4 separate regions of the Homo sapiens genome follow, and regions 2, 3 and 4 are each linked to region 1. The links are contacts of gene promoters, found by promoter capture Hi-C in blood cells and fetal thymus (Javierre and others, 2016). All regions are on one chromosome and are shown on one strand. The core of a region is centred on a gene start or on the middle of the fragment in contact, and the rest is flanking DNA. Distances in the headings are between cores, read along the strand shown.

The links. Contacts are between HindIII fragments. The CHiCAGO score rates a contact against its expected background, and 5 or more counts as called.
Region 2: a contact is called between a fragment that was not itself captured here and the fragment with the promoter of CAPN7 in region 1, in 1 of 17 cell types (total B cells). The highest score is 5.0, in total B cells.
Region 3: a contact is called between a fragment that was not itself captured here and the fragment with the promoter of CAPN7 in region 1, in 1 of 17 cell types (M0 macrophages). The highest score is 5.0, in M0 macrophages.
Region 4: a contact is called between a fragment that was not itself captured here and the fragment with the promoter of CAPN7 in region 1, in 1 of 17 cell types (M1 macrophages). The highest score is 5.5, in M1 macrophages.

The regions. Positions count from the first base shown.
Region 1 is chr3:15,204,996-15,208,510 of GRCh38, forward strand. It overlaps CAPN7 (calpain 7), which reads left to right and starts at 1,251. Exons shown (of 21, transcript NM_014296.3): 1 at 1,251-1,602. The coding sequence starts at 1,501. It also overlaps the pseudogene COL6A4P1. RefSeq lists a silencer at 957-1,476. The HindIII fragment of the contact is 5,244 bases long and covers 1-3,515 here.
Region 2 is chr3:16,183,564-16,187,371 of GRCh38, forward strand. The region is part of intron 1 of GALNT15 (polypeptide N-acetylgalactosaminyltransferase 15); the gene reads left to right. Among named protein-coding and RNA genes, the nearest start is that of GALNT15, 11 kb to the left of the region's middle. The HindIII fragment of the contact is 3,044 bases long and covers 38-3,081 here.
Region 3 is chr3:15,761,422-15,764,975 of GRCh38, forward strand. The region is part of intron 3 of ANKRD28 (ankyrin repeat domain 28); the gene reads right to left. LOC101927647 (a long non-coding RNA gene) reads left to right here. Exons shown (of 2, transcript XR_001740422.2): 2 at 1-765. Among named protein-coding and RNA genes, the nearest start is that of ANKRD28, 35 kb to the right of the region's middle. The HindIII fragment of the contact is 928 bases long and covers 1,030-1,957 here.
Region 4 is chr3:15,778,315-15,781,748 of GRCh38, forward strand. The region is part of intron 2 of ANKRD28 (ankyrin repeat domain 28); the gene reads right to left. Among named protein-coding and RNA genes, the nearest start is that of ANKRD28, 18 kb to the right of the region's middle. The HindIII fragment of the contact is 792 bases long and covers 888-1,679 here.

The DNA of each region.
Region 1 (3,515 bases), core at 1-2,500:
CACATTAGATATATTTAAGTAGTGGAGTTGACTCATTCAACATTTTAAAATATTTGTTGAACACCTGCTCTGGAACAAGGCTTGCGCTCAACGCTGGGATCAAAGTGGTAAAGACAGGAAGCATCCCTGCTTCAGCTATAAAACTGTAGTTGCTACCTTTGAGAGCCATCTTTGGGCCAGGCACAAAATCAAATTCTGTGTGTCTTTATAACAGCCTGATGAGACCGTTGTTATTAAGAACTTCACTAAATGTGAAGAAATACACTTAAACTAAGAAATTAGAGTCCCATTTTAAATGCAGGCCAAATGACTGAAAAAAAATTTAGAGTATAATTAAAAAATTAAAAGTACACACTTAAAATGTAGTTTGATAAGTTTTGACAAACGTATATATTTTTACACCACCATTGAGATATAAAACATTCTCATCATCCGAAAAGATTCCTTTGTATCCCCTTCCCAACCACTGATCTGCTTTCTAACATCGTAGTGTTTTCTAGTGTTTCTTATAGATGGAATTATACATTATGTACTCAATTCTTACTTCTTTGACTCAGCATGAATTTGGTGGTGCCCATCACTAATTCATTTTTATTACTGCTGACTTCAGACCTTTAGGGGAGAGAAGACATAAATCAAATAATCACCTAATTAAGTATTTAATTACAACAGCATCAAGTTAACCTAAGGGTAAGTACAAGTGGAAATACATTACCTTGTTTGTTAACAATTCAATCAATACGACCTTGGTGTACAGTGGGGGGCTATAGGGTCATGATTCAGCTTGTGGAAAACAAATGAAAATAAATGTTAGCGAAGAGTGACTCTAAAGAACCTCTGTCCTCACGGTAATTTTTTTAATGTGTCAGATGCTGGTGGGAGGCATTCTTCCTTAGCTCTTTACTCCCATCCCTTACACTTAACAGAGGAAAGGATCTGTAAGGCGCGTACCCCTCTACTGCCCACTGTCGACGAAAACAGCCTCGCCCTGCACCGCCACCGCCACGCATAAGGCGGTGTGTGGGCAGCTCGGACGTGGCACCTGCCCTCAGCTGCTCAATCCCGGGCGCCGCGACGGTCACGTGCACAGCGGCAGGCCTTTTTGCCCCGCCCCCGCGGCCCGGCTCCTGCGTGGGCCCGGCCCCGCCCACAGCCCGCGCAGTCCCGCGAGCCTGGCCTCGGCGGCCCCAGCTTCTAAGGAGCTCGTGAGGGCCAGGCTGCGCCTGCGTCGGGCGGCTGGTGGGCGGGGCGAGGGCCGCTGGGGCCGCGAAGTGGGGCGGCCGGGTGGGCTACAAGCCGGGTCTGGGCTGAGGGGCGCGGCTTCGCGGTGGACCCCAGCCCGGCAACGGGAAGGCGAGCTCTCCTCCACCGTCCAAAGTAAACTTTGCCGCTCCTTCCGCGGCGCTCCCGAGTCCTCGCCGCCGCCGGGCCGCCGCAGTCCGCGAAGAGCCGTCCTGCGTCAGGGCCTCCTTCCCTGCCCCGGCGCGGGGCCACTGCGCCATGGACGCCACAGCACTGGAGCGGGACGCTGTGCAGTTCGCCCGTCTGGCGGTTCAGCGCGACCACGAAGGCCGCTACTCCGAGGCGGTGTTTTATTACAAGGTAGGGCCGGGCCCGGCGCTTCGGTCGGAGTTGCTCAGTCGGAGTGCGGCCCGGGCCTGCGGCCGAGGGGCGGGATCCGGGTGCGGAGGCTAGCGGCCCCGGCTTTGCTTTTCCCTCGTCCGCCTCCCGGCCCTCCTCTTGTTGGGAGCGGCAAGCCCGAGTGCAGAGGCCGACGCTGAGGCTGCGGGGAGGCTGGGTCGCGGCTTGCAGCCGCCGCTCCTCCACCTGTAGTCCTGACTGGCAAATGCCCACCGTTGAGCCGCTTTGGGGGGCAGGTGTTAGATATGGGTAGTTAGTAGCCAATTCTTGCTGTCACTTGACTCTGATTTACAGCTAGCGGGAAATGGCCTGTGATATATATCAAAATAATGCATGCTCGTTAAATAAACTTAAAAAGAATAAAAACCATCTCCTGTCATAGCATTTGACATACAGTCATGCGTCCTTAGCGATGTGATATTTTCTGAGAAATGTGTTCTTAGGCCATTTTGTTGTTGTGCGAACACCGTAGAAAGCGCTTACACAAGCCTGAATGGTACAGCCTGTTCCACACCTAAGCTGTATGGCATGGCCTGTTGCTCCTAGGTTACAGGCCTGCGCAGCGTGTTGCTGTACTCAGTGGTGTGTGCAGTTACATGCAGTGGTAAGTATTTGTGCATCTAAACATAGAAAAGGTACAGTAAACATGCAGCATAAAAGATAAAAAAAAAATACTACACCAGTGTGGGGCACTTACCCACAAAAGGAGCTTGCAGGACTGGAAGTTGCTCTGAGTTGGTGAGTAGTGGTGAGTGAATGTGAAGGCCTGGGACATTCACTGCTCTACTCTTGTAGACTTTATAAGCAGTGTACCCTTAGGCTACGCTAAATTTTTTTAATCTTTCTTCAGTAATAAACTAACCTTAGCTTACGGTAACCCTTTTACTTTATAAACTTCTAAATTTTCTTAACTTTTTAACTCTTTTGTAATAGCTTAAAACGAACTTATTGTGCAGTTACACAAACATTTTCTTTATATCTTTATTTGGTAAGTTTTTTTGTTTCTTTTTTTTTTTTTATTCTTTAGTTAAAAACTAAGGCACACGTTAGCCTAGGCCTACACCTCGTCAGGATCATCAATATTACTGTCTTCCACCTCCAATCTTGTCCCACTGGGAGGTCTTCAGGAGCAATAACAGGAATGAAACTGTCGTCTCCTATGATAACAATGTCTCTTGAAATATCTCCTGAAGGACATGTCAGAGACTGTTTTATAGTTAACTTTTTTTTATAAAAGGAGTATACTAACAGTACATAGTATAGCATAGTAAATACATAAACCAGTAACATAGTTGTTGATTATCAAGTATTATGTACTCTACATTATTGTGTGTGGTAGACTTTTACACCACTGGCACCCCAGTAGGTTTGTTTACATCAGCATCACCACAAACATGCGAGTAAAGTGTTGTGCTATGACATTATGATGGCTATGACATGACCAGGCAATAGGAATTTTTCAACTCCATTATAATCTTAGGGGACCACTATCATATATTCAGTCTGTTGTTGACTGAAATGTTATGTGGTGTGTGACTATATTTTTGTGTTTTTTTATGCGTATGTGTATATGCTTTTTTTTTTTTTTTACAAACTGGTTTATACTGTTTTTAGTAATAGCTGCACAGTAGTTCATTATGTGGGTGTACCATATTTTTTTTTTTAAGAGACAGCGTCTTGCCCTGTCACTCAGCCTGGAGTGCCGTGGCCCACTAATAATAGCTCATTGCAGCCTCAAACTGCAAAGCTCAAGCAATCCTCCTGCCTCAGTCTCCCAATTGGTGGGACTACAGGTAGACACAACCACACTTGGCTAATTTTTTTTTTTTTTTTTTTTTTGTGTAGAAATGGAGTCTCGCTGTGTTGCCCAGGCT
Region 2 (3,808 bases), core at 310-2,809, 980 kb after region 1:
GTAAGAAGGTAAGCAATACCCAGCCCCAACCCCAAGAAGCTTGGGGTGCACTGGGGGATGCAGACAAGCAAACAGGCTGGTACATCAGTGGGATCAGGGCTGAGATAGAGAAGCCTATCCGAGTGGGGCGCCTCCACTGATTTGATAGGAACTGGGAGTCAGTATCCCCAAAACAGCTTTAGGAAACCTGGCAGAAACCTTTCTACTCTGGCCAGGCAAGGGGAGGGAGGGAAGAGCGTCAGTACTACAGCCAGGCCATCTGGTGCAATGCTGTGACTCATTCTCTTCAGAGCCATCATCCAAATGCATTTTTCCAAGTTCACAGGGGATCCTGGAGCTGCAGGAAAAGAGGGTGTGCATCTGTATGTAAACACAAGACACCAGACTCCTCTGATCTTGGAGTGTGAAGATATAAAGCTAGCCTGCAGAACAGCTCTCTTAGGCTAAGATTATCCCTTTCAATCCAGGACACACCCCTGGGCTGGAGAAAGGTATCAACATCCCTGTGTTGGCTAATTAGGGATTAAGCCCAGGTTGATTTGAGTCCAAAGCCCTTGGTTGTTCCTGTCCCGCTGCTCCCACTCAAAGGATGAACAAAGGAGGTCAGGGGTGGGGTTTTGGACACTTGAGTGACACATACAAACCGAGATAGTAAAATATTCACCGGATATTTCGTTGAAGCAGAGAAGTTAGCCTCATTATTTAACAATAAAAACATACATTTCTTCCTGGATCCTCTGCATAAGTCCCTAGTCACTTGGGGCCTTGCTTTATGATGTTCAAGAGCCTTTGCCATGCTCTGCCTCATTGGTTGGCTCAGCAATGCTATGAATGTCTTTCCTTCAGTTCCTGGTACATGCCAGCCCTTTCCCACCTCTGGGCCTTAGCAGAGGCTGTGACACCTGCCAGGCATGTCATTCATTCCCCACCTGCACTCTCTCTCTGGGCTGTGTCCTACCCACCCTTCAGGTCTTGGCTTTGATTTCACGTCCCTACATCCAGAACGTCTCACTACAGCTGCTGAATAATGATTTGGTTATGTTTAATAGGACATAAACTCCATGCTATTAGGGGCTATCTTAGTTTAGGTTTCCCCTAAAGAAGATCCTGAAAGAAGGCTTCATTTTGCCGGTTATCCCAAGAAGCACGGGTAGGGGCTCAGGAAAGCGGAGCAGAGATGCCTGAGAGAGGCATGTGTTCAAGGCAGCTACCTCTGTGGGCAGCTGGAGCTCAGCCCTTGGAGACAGTGTAGAACATGCATGCATCTCAGCGCTTCCTACCCTCTGCCCTTAGGGGTGAGGGTGCTGGGTGTTTAATAAACCAACTCTTTTCAATCACTGGCTGAGCACAGCTCACTGGGGTGGGGTAGGGGTTAATTTTCCAGCTCTTCAGGGATGCTCTGACTGGGGAAATCACACTGGTCAGCCAGAGAAAGCCCTAGGGCCATTAGAAGTTGGGCCGTCCTGTATCATAATGAGATGGCCCAAGAGGATATGGGCAGGGGCACCACAGATTGTGGTCAGGCATCATGTCTATTTCATTCATCTTTCAGTCCTAACACATAATAGGCTGTCAATAAATATCTGTTAAATGACTTGATAGAGAGATGGAAGGTGAAGATTAAAGAGAAAATCAGAATGAAGATAGGCAGTCCTGTCTAGAGCCTCCTCAATGAATAAATATCCTGTTTCCTTACTCTGAGCTTCCTGGCAGCCACACTGAAAAATAAAAAAAGACGATATTCTTATTTGTATTCTTCATGAGGAGGAAGCACACTGTTGCTCAGATGAAGGAAAGTATTTTGTGGCACTTATATCTGCAAGGACTTTTCTTCCAAAGCATCAAAGTGGAGATAACAAGTGACAGGGGGACAACATCCTCAATAAGTTCCCTCGGTAATGGAGAGCAGGTTTCCTAAAAGTGATTCTTGCATTGTTCCCTGATGAAAGCTGAGAGCACGATGACAAGCACGACTCCCTGTAAGCACATTTGTAAGGCAGCCAAGACTGAGGGGTCAAGTAAGTTGCCTTTTGAAGACCTTAAGGAATCAGCGTAGACAGTGCAGAATGTGTGGAGGAACTGATGGATCGCATGTTTTTCAAATAACCTTCCATCATTGTCCCTTTATGACTCTGAATCCAGAACATTCTGCTCGCACTGTAGTCCAAGATGGTGATAGACAGACAGATAGATAGATAGATAGATAGATAGATAGATAGATAGATAGATGATAGATTATAGCAATATACTATCAGCTATTTGCCGTGTAACTTTAAACAGGTCATTTAAGCTCTCTGGGCTCTAGTTTCCTCATCTTAAAAATGGGAAAGTGTGTCCATGATCTAGTGCTGTATAACGCACCTTATCAAAACTTAGTAGATTTTAAAAAATAGATATTTTTAAAACTTTGGTGCTTCAAAAGATGTCATCAAGAAAGTGAAAAGACAATCCAAGAGTAGAAGAAAATGTTTGTAAGTCCTATATTGCATAAGAGATTTGTATCCAAAATACAAAAAGAACCCTTACAACCCAACAATTAAACAACAAAACACTCCATTTTAAAATGGGCAAAGGATTTGAATAGACATTTCTTCAAAGAAGACATAAAAATGGTCAATAGCACACGAAAAGATGTTCAAATCATTAGTCAGTAGGAAAATACAAATCAAAACCACAATGAGATGACATTTTACCCCCACTAGGATGGCTGAAGTAAAAGACAGTGCAAGTGCTGACAAGGATGTGGAGAAATTGGAACCCTCACACATTGCTGGTGGGATTGTAAAATGGTGCAACTGCTTTGGAAAACAGTTTGGCAGTTCCCCAACATGTTAAACATGGAGCTATCATATGGCCAGTAATACCAGTCCTAGGTATATACTCAAGAAAATTAAAAACATGTTCACATGAAAACTTATACATGAATATTCATAGTGGCATTAGTCATAATATAAGTCAAAATAGGAGCAATCCAAATGTCCATCAGCTGATGAATGGACAAACAAAATGTGGTATATTCAAACAATGAAATATTAGGCAGTAAAAAGAAATGAAGTACTGATATAGACTACAACATGATTAAGCTTGAAAACATTATGATAAGTGAAAGAAATCAGTCACAAAAGGCCACGTTATGTCATTTCATTCATATGAAGTGTCCAAAGTAGGCAAGTCTGTAAAGACAGAAAGTAGGTTAGTGGTTGCCACGGGCTGTGGTAGTTGTGGGAGCAGTGGGAAGTGACTGCCAATGGGTAGTAGGTTTTTGGGGGTGGGGTGTTGAAAACGTTCTCAAATTAGACAGTGGTGATGGCTGCACACCTTTATACTTGAATCCATGGAATTGTACACTTTATAAAGGTGGACATTATGGTATGTGAATTATATCTCAATAAAAATATTATTAAAACATTAGTGATTTCAGGCCGGGCGTGGTGGCTCACTCCTGTAATCCCAGCACTTTGGGAGGCCGAGGCGGGTGGATCATGAGGTCAGGAGTTCAAGACCAGCCTGACCAACATGGTGAAACCCCGTCTCTACAAAAAATACAAAAATTAGCGAGGCATGGTGGTGCATGCCTGTAATCCCAGCTACTCAGGAGGCTGAGGTGGGAGAATCGCCTGAACCTGGGAGGTGGAGGTTGCAGTGAGCTAAGATAATGCCACTGCACTCCAGCCTGGGTGACAGAACAAGACTCCATCTCAAAAAAAAAATTAGTGATTTCAAACAATAACCATTTCTATGTTATGGTTCTATAATTTGGACCGGACTCAGCCAGGCAGTTCTTCTGCTGATCTCCCCTGGGTTCACC
Region 3 (3,554 bases), core at 244-2,743, 560 kb after region 1:
AATTTATAACTCAACTTACCATAATTCATTAAAAGGCTGTTTTGATGGATCCAGAATTTAAAATTAGGGTTATAGAAATCAGTCAGTTTAACTTGGGCCTCAGCAACCATGGCATTCAAACCAAATTTAAGCAGAACTCCTGGAGCATCTATACAGAACCTTATGAGTCTATATACTATATATTGTCTGAAGACTATTCTTCTGATATTTATTCTGAACTAAAATTTGGATACGATTAGTCTTTTACTACCCTGCTATTCTGGAAATCTATTTCCAATATAAAAGTAAGAATTCACTGGTTAGCTTATACTTGACTTCTAAAATGTGTAGTATATCTTCTGTAAAACTGTCCTAATCAACTTTCAATTTAAAGAGTTAATAGGAATTTAAAATGGATATAACATGAATGAACTGAAGAAATATCCACCAATCAAAATTCCTTCCTGATCAGGTTTCTGGTTCAGATTTCAAAATCTCTCCTGGGCTGGGCATGGTGGCTCACAGCTGTAATCCCAGCACTTTGGGAGGCCGTGGTGGGTGGATCACCTGGGGTCAGGAGTTCGAGACCAGCCTGGCCAACATGGTGAAACCCCATCTCTACTAAAAATACAAAAATTAGTTGGGCCTGGTGATGCATGCCTGTAATCCCAGCTACTCAGGAGGCTGAGGCAGGAGAATCATTTGAACCTGGTAGGTGGAGGTTGCAGTAAACCGAGAGATGGTGCCACTGCCCTCCAGCCTGGGTAACAGAGCAAGACTATGTCTTTAAAAAAAAAAAAAAAAAAAAAAAAACAAAACAAAAAAAAAAAAACTCTCCTGGTTCCTTCCTCATTTATGTGAAAGGATATTTTTATAAAAGGCTATGGGAGTTATCCTCTATAGTGTCAACTTTCGTAAGTTAAATACACATCCTGATTACTACCTATCTTTTTGTTAGAGCTCTGTTATCCATAAATTACAGGAGCCCTTACTATTTCCTCAGGGGAGCAAATACCTACCCTGTTCAGGAAGGTACTTATATCATATTAAAGCTTTAAAGGCTGTTTCTTGATTGTAGAATTTAAAACATATAAATACACTTCTCCAGAGTATATAGAGTCTATTTTTTTTCAACCTTTGTCTTTCTAGATTGTGGAAATAAATTATTTTTCATTTTCCCCCAGTAGGTAAGTCATTCCTTCCTCTTTATCATTTCAGAACGTAATAACTGGACTTCAAAACTGACAGCGGAGAATTTTTAAGAAAGCATATCTAAAAGTCACAGAGAAGATAATTCCTGATATCAAGGAATTTATTTACTTGGCAGAACCAAAAAAGTGAAGGAAAAAATAGAAATGCTCCTTAAAAAAAAATAGCCATAATTTTGAATACTATATGCCAGGGACTTTTCTAGGTATCTTAATGACATAATCTCATTTGCTTCTTTAAGCCTATAAATTTTATATTATTCCCATTTTTTTAGATGAGGAAGTTGAGGCTCAGAGAGCAAATAAACTTCAAAAGATCATGGAGGTGCTAAGAGGTAAGGCCAGGACTGTATCCAAATCTGTCTGGCAAAAGAGCTTGTGACATTCACACTATCTGTAGTGTCTCTCATGGCAACACAAAGCCTGGTTTATTTCTTTATTTTTTTTGTTTATAAGCAGAAAGCTGAGGTTCTAGTTCAATAGAAATCTAGCCTTGGATTTTACTCCAGCTAATTTTACTCCAAACCCATGTAAGTTTTTGTTTTATTTTTCCTAAATTAGAGCCTAACTGGTAAGTCTAAAGAGAAAAAAGTCTAAGACCCTGAGTTGCACTCAAAGACAAATCATTCGCCTTCTTTCCCTTTCCACTTACCTGATACCCTTCAACCCTTAACTTCTACCCATCCCCACCTCTCCCATTCTCATTTCCATTAAAGACTTGAGAAACAAACCAAAATGTAAACAAATTTCTGAAAAGGAGACACAGTCTAAGCTTATATTGCTATAATCACCATCCCAGGCACTTTAAATAAATATGCTAGGAAGGCAAAGTAGACTAACTGCCTGCCTTCTTGGAGTTTACATTCTGGAGGAGATAAAACGACAGTAAACAAGTAATTTAAAAAGGATGTCAGGTAACAATAAACACTAGGAGAAAAGATAACACAGGCGAGGGGGATTAGGTGGTAGTGGTAGTGACCAAGGAAGATCTTGTTGATGATGCGACATCTGAGCAAGGACATGAAAAGGTTCATGGTGTAAGCGGCTGAAGAAGGTTTAAGGCTAAGGAAACAGCAGTGCGAAGAACCAGAGGTAGAAGGCAGCCAGTAGGGTTAGAGCAGAGCAAACAAAAAGAGAGTAGCAGGAATTCAAGTCAGAAGAAATCTGGGGTGGGGAGATAATGTACAGCTCTAAGGCCAATGTAAAAACTTAATTTTTTTTTATTGAGAACTGAGAACAATTGAATTCATCCAAAATTGTATTTTTCCTTTGAAAAATAGCTACATGAGCTATATTACCTCTTTACACTGATAAAACATTAAAAGTACTTTTTGGCTGGGCACAGTGCCTCACACTTGTAATCTCAGCACTTTCGGAGGCTGAGGCAGGCAAATCACCTGAGACCAGGAGTTCAAGACCAGCCTGGCCAACATGGTGAAACCCCATCTCTTACTAAAAATACAAAAATTAGCCAGGCCTGGTGCCACACACCTGCAGTCCCAGCTACTCGGGAGGCTGAGGCAGGTGAATCGCTTGAACCCGGGAAGTTGCACTGAGCTGAGATTGTGCCACTGCACTCCAGCCTGGGCGACAGAGCGAGATTCTGTCTCAAAGAAAAATAAAAAAAGTATTTTTTAAAGGTAAGTTCAAATAGCTTTTTATACAAGTATCATGGTTAATTTTACACATGATTTGTACTTGGATTATTCAGAAGAAACTAAGCATTCTCTCAAATGCTTATTTCACAGCTGACATCTAGATACTATCATGCTCATGATAAGACTCATTTGACCATCATACTTACAGAAACCAGGAAGTCAACCTTCTACAAGTAACTAAAAATCCTTGTTGCAAACATTCACTTTTAAAAGGAAGGGATTAAGTCAACTTTGAGCATTTGAAAAGTTTCTCCTGGGTGTAAAAATAAAAAATGAAAAAAAAAAACAAACCCTCCACGTGGAATCATATAAAATAATATTTATGACAAAACAAAAATAATCAGAATTCTGTGTTAAAATAAAAAATGCAGCAGTAGACTTCTTATCCAGTCCTAAACTGTTTCTTGGATGATGTTTGTGTAGAAAATTCCATAAACTTGAGTCCCATTAATTTATATTATTAAAAGAAATAATTTTGTCAACCTCCTCAGTTCTTATCTTGAGTAAATTTTAGCTGAAAATTAATAAGGAACAGGCATCTTCAGGGAAGTACATCAGCGGTGAAATTATTCATAAAGAAGCTAACAAAATATTAGCCAGGTCCATGTTTAACCATATTTAATTTTATATGATCATGAAATCTGATATAGAAATAAGGTATTTTTTAAAAATCCAACTGATTCTTAAATTTTTATGAATTTGTAACGGC
Region 4 (3,434 bases), core at 34-2,533, 570 kb after region 1:
TAAGGGCAGTAATTCAGGCATGGTGTGACTGGGTTCTCTGCTGAGGGTTACACAAAGTTGAAATCAAGGTGTTGATGGGCTGTGTTCTCACCTAGAGACCTGACTAAAGGAAAAAAAATCTGTTTTTTGGCTCATTCAGGAAATGGTCAGTTCTTTGTCCTTCTAAGACCTCCATTTTCCTTTCCCAGTTGTCAGCCAGAGGTCACCCTCCACTAGCAGAGAATGCCTGAGTTCTTACCATATGGCTCCCTCCATCTTCAAAGCCAGCAAGAGAGAATATCCTTCACATCAAATCCCTCTCATACGTCTAATCTCCTACTCTCTTTGTTCCTAACTCTAGACCCAGATTTAGAGTTCATGTGATTAGGGCACACCCATCTAGATAATCTCACTTACCTAGAGTCAGCTTTGTGCTCTGCCAGATGACATAAACTAATCAGGAATGAGACCTGATATGGTTTGGCTCTGTATCCCTACCCAAATTTAATCTTAAATTGTAATAATCCCTACGTGTCAAGGATGGGACTAGGTGGAGGTAAATGAATCATGGGGGGCAGTTCCCCCATGCTATTCTCATGATAATAAGTGAGTCTCAGGAGATCTGATGGTTGTATAAGTATGTAGCATTTGCCCTGCTGGCAGTCATTCTCTCTCCTGTCACCCTGTGAAGAGGTGCCTTCTGCCATGATTGTAAGTTTCCTGAGGCCCCCACAGCCATGCAGAACTGTGAGTCAATTAAACCTCTTTTTTAATAAATTACCCAGTCTCAGGTAGTTCTTCATAGCAGAGGGAGAACAAACTCATACAATACCCTATCATGCTTACAATACCAGAAATAATACAGGGGACCATCTTAAAAGTCTGCCTACCATAAACTGCAGCCTGAAAGCTTAAGACGAGGCAAAGGAAGAGGGTGAGAATGCAGGTACAACTGATAATCTGATATAAGGAAATAACATTAAAAAGCAGGGAGAAGAAATTATGCATGATTGGACTTGCCTTCACAGGAACCAGCATAGTAACTGGCACATATTACTAGACAAGTGAATAAACCAACATACCAAATATTATCAAATTAAACAAGCAAGTATTTACTAAAGAGCTTATATGCTTATAGCTACAAGAGAAAAGAAATTACTTATAATGCTAAGCCACTAGGTAGAATTGAGAGGTGACATACCAGGGCAGACAATATGGACAAAAAACTAAATTTGACATAAAGAAAACTGCGTTAAGATATCTTTGAGATCTTGGAAAGTGACCAAATGGAAGCAACCAAATCAAATAATTCCAAGGGCCTTAGTTTTGCCTCATCTGTAACGGAGTTGATTTAACTACTTAATCTTTAAGATCCCTTTCCAGTGCTGACTATCCTACAATATGGAAGGCATGGTTCTTGCCCCAGGACAAATTCCCTGTAGGTATTTTAGAATCTAGTTATTAATTCATGTTGTAATCTAGACACTGCTCTATAATAATATATAAAAATACAGACAGCATCCTATTCTAAGTACTGAATTTATTCCATTCTACAAATTTAGCAGTAATCAGATATTTCTAAGGCTTACTTGCTTTTTGTAGAATAATAAAACACTAAAATTACACATCAATAACAGGTCCTGTAAAGGCCAAAAATGGCAGGCCCACAGCTAACATCACACTTAACGTACAAAGTTGAAAGCTTTCTTCTAAGACGAGGGACAAGAATGCTGCCCACCCTCACCACTCCTATCCACCATAGTGCTGCAAGTCCTAGCCAGAACAATTAGGCAAGAGAAAGAAGTAAAAGGCATCCTAATAAAAAAGAAAGAAATGAAATTTTATTTGCAGACATGATCTTACACAGAGAAATCCCTAAAGAGACACCAAAAAATGACTGAAACTGACAAATGAATTAAGTTGCAAGATACAAAATCAACATACAAAAAAAATCAGTAGCCTTTCTGTATACTAACAACAAACTATCTAAAAAGGAAATTAAGAAAACAATCCCATTTATAATAGCAACAACAAAAAAAAGTAACATATTTAGGTGAAAATTTAACCAAACAGGTAAAAGATCTGTATACTAAAAACTATAAAACATTAATGAAAACAAATTGAAGAAAACACAAATAAATGAGAAGATATACTGTGTTCATGAACTAAAAAATTAATATTGTTAAAATGTCCATATTATCCAAAGCAATCCACAAATTCAGTGCAATCCCTATCAAAATTCCAATGTAATTTTTCACAGAAAATAGAAAAAACAACCCTTAAATTCATATGAAACAATAAAAGACCATGAATAGTTAAAAACAATAACCAGCGAAAAAAACAAAGCTGGAGGCATCACACTGCTGATTTCAAAATATATTATAAAGCTACTGTAATCAAGACAGCATAGTATTGGCATAAAAACAGACACAGTGACCAATGGAACAGGACAGAAAGCCCAGAAATAAATTCACTCATTTATGGTCACTTGATTTTTGACAAAGGTGCCAAGAACACATAATGTGGAAAGAACAGCCTCTTCAATAAAAGATGTTAGGAAAACTGGATATCCAGATGCAGAAGAATGAAACTGGATCCTTATCTCATACCATATATAAAAATCAGCTCAAAATACATTAAAGACTTAAATATAAGACCTGAAATTATAAAACTATAAACAAGGCGGGGAAGCACCACAATACTGGTCTGGGCAATATTTTTTTGGATATGACCTGAAAGCACAAGCAACAAAAACAAAAACTGGCAAATGGGACTGCATTAAATGAAAAAGCTTTTGCACAGAAAAAAAAAAAATCACATGTATATATTAGCAAACCGTATATTTGATAAAGAATTTATATTCAAAGTATATAATAAACTCAACTCAAAAGCAAGAAAACAACCTGATTAAAAGAGGCAAAGGACCTGTCATGACTAATTTTAGGTGTCCATCTGACTGAATTAAAGGATACTTAGATAGCTGGTATGGCATTATTTCTGTAGAAATCCATGAGGATGTTTCTGGAGGAGACTGGCATGTGAGTCAGTGGACTGAGTGGGGAAGATCTGCCCTCATTGTGGGCAGGTCTGGATGGAACAAAAAGGTGAAGGAAAAAAAAAATCACAAACAATAAGTGAAGTGATGGATATATTAGCTTGATTTAATCATCCCACATTGTATACATATACCAAAATATTACATTGTACTCTACAAATATATACAATTATGATTTGGCAATTAAAACTAATATTAATAATAAAAAGTAGAGGTGATGCCATCTGTGACTGGACAATTGTAATCATCAAATGCAATCCAGTTGTTCGGCAGGCTAATGTTTAGAATTTCTATTCCAGAAGTACTGCTGGAATATAAAAGAAAATTACCATTTCACAAAATATGTAATGTCTAAGTCTGAAAACATTCAGTGGAATGTCAGCTGCTTCAATCAATAAAA